Linked DNA regions of Homo sapiens: regions 1 and 3 are each linked to region 2. Evidence: promoter capture Hi-C in 16 types of primary human blood cells and fetal thymus (Javierre and others, 2016). All regions are on one chromosome and are shown on one strand. The core of a region is centred on a gene start or on the middle of the fragment in contact, and the rest is flanking DNA. Distances in the headings are between cores, read along the strand shown. Region 1 overlaps UBR2 (ubiquitin protein ligase E3 component n-recognin 2). Region 2 holds the start of PEX6 (peroxisomal biogenesis factor 6). Region 3 holds the start of PRPH2 (peripherin 2).

Region 1 (2,700 bases), core at 136-2,635, 330 kb after region 2:
CCTGGGTGACAAAGCTAGATCCTGTCTCAAAAACACAAAAACAAAAATAACACAAACAAGGTTCCAGACTTGCCACTTAACTAGCTATAGGACCGTAAGTCTATGAGTGTCAGTTTCTTCAACTACAAAATAAGGATATGGATGATTCAAAAAAAATTTTTGTTTTGGAAAATAATTAGATTAGAAACATATATAAAAGATAACACATTATATCAATATCAGAATACTACATATATAAAGACAAGGACCAATCTAGGAGAGAACAACTGCCCAGTGGGACTGAGGTAATAACAACCATGTGGTATAAAAAAATCTGTCTGGCACTTGTTTTTACTGTCAGACACAAAAGCAGTAACAATATATTCAAGTTAGGAAAACACAATACATTTCGGCCTAGTTTTCCTGTGTATAGATACAGACAAGAATATTTTGCTTGTACTATAAAATACTAAAATATAAATAATAAATGTCTTCAAACCTACCCTTTGCAGCATGGACTCTGACCAGGCATATCCATTATGTTCCACAGCCCATTGCAGAATTGTTCCCATGATGCACAACATGACATCTGACTGCAAAATGTTAACCAGGCTTGCAAACAGAGGGCAGAATGGAGGCAACACCGGAGGTGGGAGTGCTGAAAATACAGTTGTTATTATTGGTTTCTTTTACAGAACATGCTTTAGAAACTATCTCTTTGTTACTTTTGATAGTTTTAACTCAAAGAATATTCATTAACACACACCTTAAAGCTATTATTTTACATTCTCAAGGTCAAATGCATAAAAAGAGCCACGAAAGTAGCAGCAGTACAGAAGAAAGTCTATCTTTTCCCCTAGAAAGGTCTTAAGATCTGAGATAACATCAACCCAGAGGACTTAGCACAAACTATTTCTGTGTTAACATATTTATTATTCCTCTGAATAGGAGGTTATTCACTAGGAAAGCTTACATTTAAATATTCATTCCACCAAGGACAATCATCATAGTTAACAGAAAACAATGTTTAACAAGCAAAAAAGATGGGCAAGACATTTTCAGAAAGATTAAAAATACCTGTATCTTCTCTATTTTGTCTTTTCAATTTCCGTTGCGCTTCTTCTGCCTAATAAAAAATAAAGTTATTTGGACCGGGAATTAGTAATGCCCACCACCACACCTGGTTAATTTTTATATTTTTAGTAGAGGTGGGGTTTCACTATGTTGGCCAGGCTGGTCTTGAACTCCTGACCTTGTGATCTGCCCACCTCAACCTCCCAAAGTGCTGGGATTACAGGCATGAGCCAATGTGTCTGGCCAAGGATGAACATCTAAAATCAGAAAATAACACAACAGAGGCCGGGGCGTGGCAGCTCACACCTGTAATCCCAGCACTTTGGGAGGCCAAGACAGGTGGATCACCTGAGGTCAGGAGTTCGAGAGCAGCCTGGCCAACGCGGAGAATCCCCATCTCTACTAAAAATACAAAAATTGGCTGGGCGTGGTGGCACACACCTGTAATCCTAGCTACTCAGAAGGCTGGGGCAGGATAATTGCTTGAACCTGGGAGGCAGGGGCTCTAGTGAGCCGAGGTCTGCACTCCAGCCTGGGTAACAGAGTGAGACCCTATCTCAAAAAAAATAAAAAATAAAAAAGATATCTATCTTTAAGTTCTAGTCCTCCCCCAAACGGATACATCAAGGTTAATTTTTTTTTTTAACTAAAAGAATCTCCAAACGAGTTCTCTATTACTTTAAATTAGAAGGGAAACATGTACTTAAATAAGTACAAACTTATTTAAGTTTGAACTCTATGACTTCATCAAAAACTAAATAAAAGCTTTATGTTTAAGTTTTATTTAATGCTGTTTATTGAAAAACCATTTTAAGAGGAGACTGCTAAAAGGCAGATTTTTTTTTTTTTTTTGAGATACGGTCTCACTCCCATCATCCAAGCTGGAATGCAGTGGTGCAATCATAGCTCACTGCAGTCTTGACCTCCTGGGCTCAAGTGATCCTCCTATCTCAGCCTCCTGAGTAGCTGGGACGAGAAGTGCATGACACCATGCCTGGCTAATTTTTGTATTTTTAGTAGACATGGGATTTCAACATGTTGGCCAGGCTGATCTCGAACTCCTGAGCTCAAGCGATCTGCCCGCCTCAGCCTCCCAAAGTGCTGGGATTACATGCCCCACCAAAAAGGCAAAATTTAATTACCTAGGAATGATTAGAAAAGCTCCATGAATCTCTATGAAAAAGTGTTAAATAATACCAATTCTGAAATGTGCATAAAATGGATTAACTGATTATAATACAGGTTGAAAATTTGTTTTAAAAAACTATACCCATATACGTAAAGGTATGTATTATATAGATCGTATATACATATGTACAAAACGCTAGGGGGTAACTCCAAAATGTTAGGTGAGGGTATTTTAAGTAATTTCTACTTTCTTCTTTATATTTTATATTTTCCAAATCCCCTACAATAAAAATGTATCATTTTTCAATCTGCAAAAGCAGTAAAAAAGTTGTTTAGGAAAAAAAAATTCAAGCCAGATACAGTGGTGCATGCCTGTAATCTCATCTACTCAAGAGGCTGAGGTGGGAGAATTGCTTGAGCCCAGGAGTTTGAGGTTGCAATGCTCTATAATGGCATTGTGAATAGCCACCAAACTCTAGCCTGGGCAACATGGTGAAACCTCATCTCTTAAGAAAAACA
Region 2 (2,700 bases), core at 36-2,535:
ACCAGCCTGACCAACAGGGTGAAACCCCGTCTCTACTGAAAATACAACATTAGCTGGGTGTGGTGGCACACACCTGTAATCTCAGCTACTTGGGAGGCTGGGGCAGGAGATTCTTTGAACCTGGGAAGCGGAGATTGCAGTGAGCTGAGATCGTGCCATTGCACTCTGGCCTGGGCAACAAGACCGAAACTCCGTCTCAAAAAAAAAATTGGCTGGGTATGGTGGCGTGTGCCTGTGGTCCCGGCTACAGTTACTCGGGAGGCTGAGGTGGGAGATCACTTGAGCCTGGGACGGTAGAAGCTGCAATGAATGGGGATCGTGCCACTGTACTCCAACCTGGGTGACAGAGTAGGACCCTGTTGCCATAAAAAAGGAAATGTGGCCTACCACTAGCTGAGTGTCTTGTACAGAACAGTGGAGGTGAAGAGAAGGATGGAATCTAAATAACAGCACACGCAGGAAGTCGACTGTTGGTGTTATGCTGACAGAAGCCTTGAACTCCTTTCCTTCTGCCTGCTCTGCTGCCTGCCCCGCTCTAGGATAGAAAGTGAATGGGTTTCCGATCTGCAAGGATTTGGGGGGGGGGGGTGAAAGAAAAGCTGTTTTGTCTTCAACTTAAGTTTGGTGGGAGTAAAACAAACAGAACAATGAACAGGGCAAGAAGTCCTGGAACATGGGTTTTGTGCCAGATGTGCTGGAACATGTGTGGTGGCACCAAGCACTCCAGGGCTGTATGAATCACATCTAGTAATTCACTCAGCAGCCACTATATACCTATAAGCAAGTGTGAGACAGTTTTCTAATCCTGCTACTCCCTCCTGCAACCTTTCCTGCAACCCTCAAACCTCAGTGCTCACAGTTCCACAGGGGAAGCTGCAGGAGCTCCGCAGAGGAGCGGACTCCTTCCGAAACATTTCACCTAGAGCTCCCAGTACTGGGCCCAGTCATCCCGAGCATGCTGACTGTTCATTTATCAGTCAATAAACTGTTACGTTCATGCCACGGGGAAAAATAGTTAAGAGAACATTACTTCCGTAGAAGGCAAAGATAAATCCCTTAAGCACAAGTTCAAATGGCGCATGGGTAAACGCTACGCAACCGCAGCGATGAAGGTTACTGCCTATCGAGGCACGACGCAGATCAATCCGAGGCGCAGCTAACCCCCTCAGAGCAAGTTCGCGGCACCCGACCCCCCTCCCCTTTTCCTCTGGCCTCCCCTGACGGAAGCGGAAGCGGCCCTCGCGCACACTAGTCGTCTGGCTCTCTGGCTCCGGAAGCTGCGCTCCTTCACCCTCCTCGTTGGTGTCCTGTCACCATGGCGCTGGCTGTCTTGCGGGTCCTGGAGCCCTTTCCGACCGAGACACCCCCGTTGGCAGTGCTGCTGCCACCCGGGGGCCCGTGGCCGGCGGCGGAGCTGGGCCTGGTGCTGGCCCTGAGGCCTGCAGGGGAGAGCCCGGCAGGGCCGGCGCTGCTGGTGGCAGCCCTGGAGGGGCCGGACGCGGGCACCGAAGAGCAGGGTCCCGGGCCGCCGCAGCTACTGGTTAGCCGCGCGCTGCTGCGGCTCCTGGCACTGGGCTCCGGGGCCTGGGTGCGGGCGCGGGCGGTGCGGCGGCCCCCGGCGCTAGGTTGGGCACTGCTTGGCACCTCGCTGGGGCCTGGGCTCGGACCGCGAGTCGGGCCGCTGCTGGTGAGGCGCGGAGAGACCCTCCCAGTGCCCGGACCGCGGGTGCTGGAGACGCGGCCGGCGTTGCAAGGGCTGCTGGGCCCAGGGACTCGGCTGGCTGTGACTGAGCTCCGCGGGCGGGCCAGACTGTGTCCAGAGTCTGGGGACAGCAGTCGGCCCCCACCCCCGCCCGTGGTGTCCTCCTTTGCGGTTTCTGGCACAGTGCGGCGACTCCAGGGAGTTCTGGGAGGGACTGGAGATTCACTAGGGGTGAGCCGGAGCTGTCTCCGTGGCCTTGGCCTCTTCCAGGGCGAATGGGTGTGGGTGGCCCAGGCCAGAGAGTCATCGAACACTTCACAGCCGCACTTGGCTAGGGTGCAGGTCCTAGAACCTCGCTGGGACCTCTCTGATAGACTGGGACCCGGCTCTGGACCGCTGGGAGAGCCCCTCGCTGACGGACTGGCGCTTGTCCCTGCCACTTTGGCTTTTAATCTTGGCTGTGACCCCCTGGAAATGGGAGAGCTCAGAATTCAGGTAGGATAAAGGACTGGGGTCAGGAGTGCTTCCTCTTTCTTATACCCTCTTCTCTGTCTTAGGTAAATTGGAAGATTTAGGACTCGTGCCCCATATCATCCCGGACTTTGAACATAATGTTTCTAGCCGGGCGCGGTGACTCACGCCTGTAATCCCAGCACTTTGGGAGGCCGAGGCGAGCGGATCACTTGGGGTCGGGAGTTCGAGACCAGCCTGACCAACATGGAGAAACCCCGTCTCTACTAAAAAAATGTAAAATTAGCCGGGCGTGGTGGTGCATGCCTCTAATCCCAGCTACTTGGGAGGCTGAAGCAGGAGAATCGCTTGAACCTGGGAGGCGGAGGTTGCGGTGAGCCAAGATCGCGCCATTGGACTCCAGCCTGGGCGATAAGAGTGAAACTCTGTCTCAAAAAAAAAAAAAAAAAAGCATAATGTTTCTTAGCCTCATTTATCTATTTTCTTTTTCTTTCTTTCCTTTTTTTTTTTTTTTTTTTTTTTTTGAG
Region 3 (2,700 bases), core at 77-2,576, 260 kb after region 2:
TGATGCTCCTTCCTCAGCCTCACAAGTAACTGGGATTACAGGTGCCTGTCACCATACCCAGACAATTTTTGTATTTTTAGTAGAGACAGGGTTTCACCATGTTGGCCAGGCTGGTCTTGAATGCCTGACCTCAAGTGATCCACCCACCTTGGCCTTCCAAACTGCTGGGATTACAGGTGTGAACCACTGTGCCCGGCCAAGTTTGGTATTTTATTGTTGTTTGGATTTGCATTTTCCTGCTTATTACCCAAGTTGAGATCTTTTCCAGATTATTGGACTTTTCAAGTTTCCTAATTATGAATTGTCTGTTCCTGGTTTTTGCCTATTTTTCCAGTTGATTATTGGTCTTTTGATTGTGAATTTTTGTTTATTGTGAATTTGTGAGACTTAAAACATTTTTGCATATTAATTCTTTTTTTTTTTTTTCCAGACAGAGTCTCACTGTCACCCAGGCTGGAGTGCAATGTGGGGATCTCAGTTCAGTGCAACCTCCACCTCCTGGGCTCAAGCGATCCACCTGCCTTGGCCTCCCAAAGTACTGGGATTACAGGCATAAGCCACCATGCCTGGCCACTGTATATTACTTTTTAATTTTACAAGTTGCAAATGTTTTCTCACGATCTGTCACTTTCTTTCTTTCCTTCCTTCTTCTCTTCTTTTCTTTGTCTTTTTAAAATTTGAGACAGGGCCTCACTCTGTCACCCAGGCTGGAGTGCAGTGGCACGATCATGGCTCAGTGCAGCCTTGAACTCCCCAGGCTCAGGTGATCTTGCCACCTCAGCCTCCAGAGTAGCTGGGAGAACTACAGGTGCATGCCACCATACCCAGCTAATTTTTTTTTTTTTTTTTTTGTGTGTGTGTGTGTGTGTGTGGAGATGGGGTCTTCCTATGTAGCCCAGGCTGGTCTTGAACTCCTGGGCTCAAGTGATCCACCCAACTTGGTCTCCCAAAGTGCTGGGATTATAGGCGTGATCCACTGTGCCTGGCCCTGTCATTTCTTTTCTCAGAGAGGATAACAATTTATTTGTCCTACAGAAAGTTTTAAATGTTGAAGGAGATTGGCCTGGAAATATGCTTTTGGGGAGCAACACGGTCTGAGCCAGACATCCAGATACAGCCCATTCTTCTGGCCAGTCTTGCCCTTTGCTCCTGATTCTCCAAGCTGTACCCAGAGCTTTCTGGTTCAGCATGTACCTGGAGGCTGCTTTTGACCATGTTTTGAGAGTGGCATGGCTTTATCTAATGGGATGAACCTGGCTAAAGAGATTAGCAAAATGTCTTGTGGATCCCACTTTTAATCTGCAGCGTTCAGGCTGCCCCTTCTTGGCTGGGAAGGGCGCTGAAGAAACAACGCCCAGGACCAGGACTATCCCCTGCTCAAGCTGTGATTCCGAGACCCCTGCCACCACTACTGCATTCACGGGGATCCCAGGCTAGTGGGACTCGACATGGGTAGCCCCCAGGGCAGCTCCCTACAGCTTGGGCCATCTGCACTTTTCCCAAGGCCCTAAGTCTCCGCCTCTGGGCTCGTTAAGGTTTGGGGTGGGAGCTGTGCTGTGGGAAGCAACCCGGACTACACTTGGCAAGCATGGCGCTACTGAAAGTCAAGTTTGACCAGAAGAAGCGGGTCAAGTTGGCCCAAGGGCTCTGGCTCATGAACTGGTTCTCCGTGTTGGCTGGCATCATCATCTTCAGCCTAGGACTGTTCCTGAAGATTGAACTCCGAAAGAGGAGCGATGTGATGAATAATTCTGAGAGCCATTTTGTGCCCAACTCATTGATAGGGATGGGGGTGCTATCCTGTGTCTTCAACTCGCTGGCTGGGAAGATCTGCTACGACGCCCTGGACCCAGCCAAGTATGCCAGATGGAAGCCCTGGCTGAAGCCGTACCTGGCTATCTGTGTTCTCTTCAACATCATCCTCTTCCTTGTGGCTCTCTGCTGCTTTCTGCTTCGGGGCTCGCTGGAGAACACCCTGGGCCAAGGGCTCAAGAACGGCATGAAGTACTACCGGGACACAGACACCCCTGGCAGGTGTTTCATGAAGAAGACCATCGACATGCTGCAGATCGAGTTCAAATGCTGCGGCAACAACGGTTTTCGGGACTGGTTTGAGATTCAGTGGATCAGCAATCGCTACCTGGACTTTTCCTCCAAAGAAGTCAAAGAGTGAGTGGCTTCCAGTCCTGGGGTCAGAGCTATGAATATATTGGGGACACTGAGGCTCAGGCCTCTGACCAGCCCCTCTCCCCGCACCCAGTGCCTTTTCCTCTCCATCGGGTGCACAACTTATTGCTGCGTATGTGAGGGTGTATCAGGTGGAACCATATGAAATTGCTAATATTCTACCTCTTTGACCCATAAAAAATGACAACTTCATAGGGTTCAACCTAACATTGGCTAAGGTGGTAGGAAGGTATCAATTTATATAAGCTGTTTGGATAGGAGCCCCTTGGGATGAAGAGCCAGGCAGCAATGTGTGTCCACTTTATACAGAGGGATGGAAGTCATTCATAGATCACAAACACTGAGGTACTATTTGGCTATTTGTCCCATTCATTCAAAGTAGATGGATTCAGTCCCAGAAGTTTAAATTTCCTAGTTAGTTCCCTTGTTTTCCAACCTTTCAACCCTGAGCATCCATTCCCAAGATGTTTGTCTGGATATGTTGGAAAGAGCATAGGAAGGGGAAGTCATGAG

Evidence for each region. Contacts are between HindIII fragments. The CHiCAGO score rates a contact against its expected background, and 5 or more counts as called.
Region 1: a fragment that was not itself captured here is called in contact with the fragment with the promoter of PEX6 in region 2 in 1 of 17 cell types (total B cells); the score reaches 5.5 in total B cells.
Region 3: a contact is called between the fragment with the promoter of PRPH2 here and the fragment with the promoter of PEX6 in region 2, in 2 of 17 cell types (non-activated CD4 T cells and neutrophils). The highest score is 7.6, in non-activated CD4 T cells.

What each region holds. Positions count from the first base shown.
Region 1 is chr6:42,650,428-42,653,127 of GRCh38, reverse strand. It overlaps UBR2 (ubiquitin protein ligase E3 component n-recognin 2), which reads right to left. Exons shown (of 47, transcript NM_001363705.2): 24 at 1,057-1,105; 25 at 483-637. Among named protein-coding and RNA genes, the nearest start is that of PRPH2, 71 kb to the left of the region's middle. The HindIII fragment of the contact is 871 bases long and covers 950-1,820 here.
Region 2 is chr6:42,977,766-42,980,465 of GRCh38, reverse strand. It overlaps PEX6 (peroxisomal biogenesis factor 6), which reads left to right and starts at 1,285. Exons shown (of 17, transcript NM_000287.4): 1 at 1,285-2,197. The coding sequence starts at 1,316. RefSeq lists silencers at 483-679, 1,334-1,713 and enhancers at 874-923, 1,084-2,025. The HindIII fragment of the contact is 10,844 bases long and covers 1-2,700 here.
Region 3 is chr6:42,721,223-42,723,922 of GRCh38, reverse strand. PRPH2 (peripherin 2) reads left to right here and starts at 1,326. Exons shown (of 3, transcript NM_000322.5): 1 at 1,326-2,169. The coding sequence starts at 1,589. The HindIII fragment of the contact is 19,648 bases long and covers 1-2,700 here.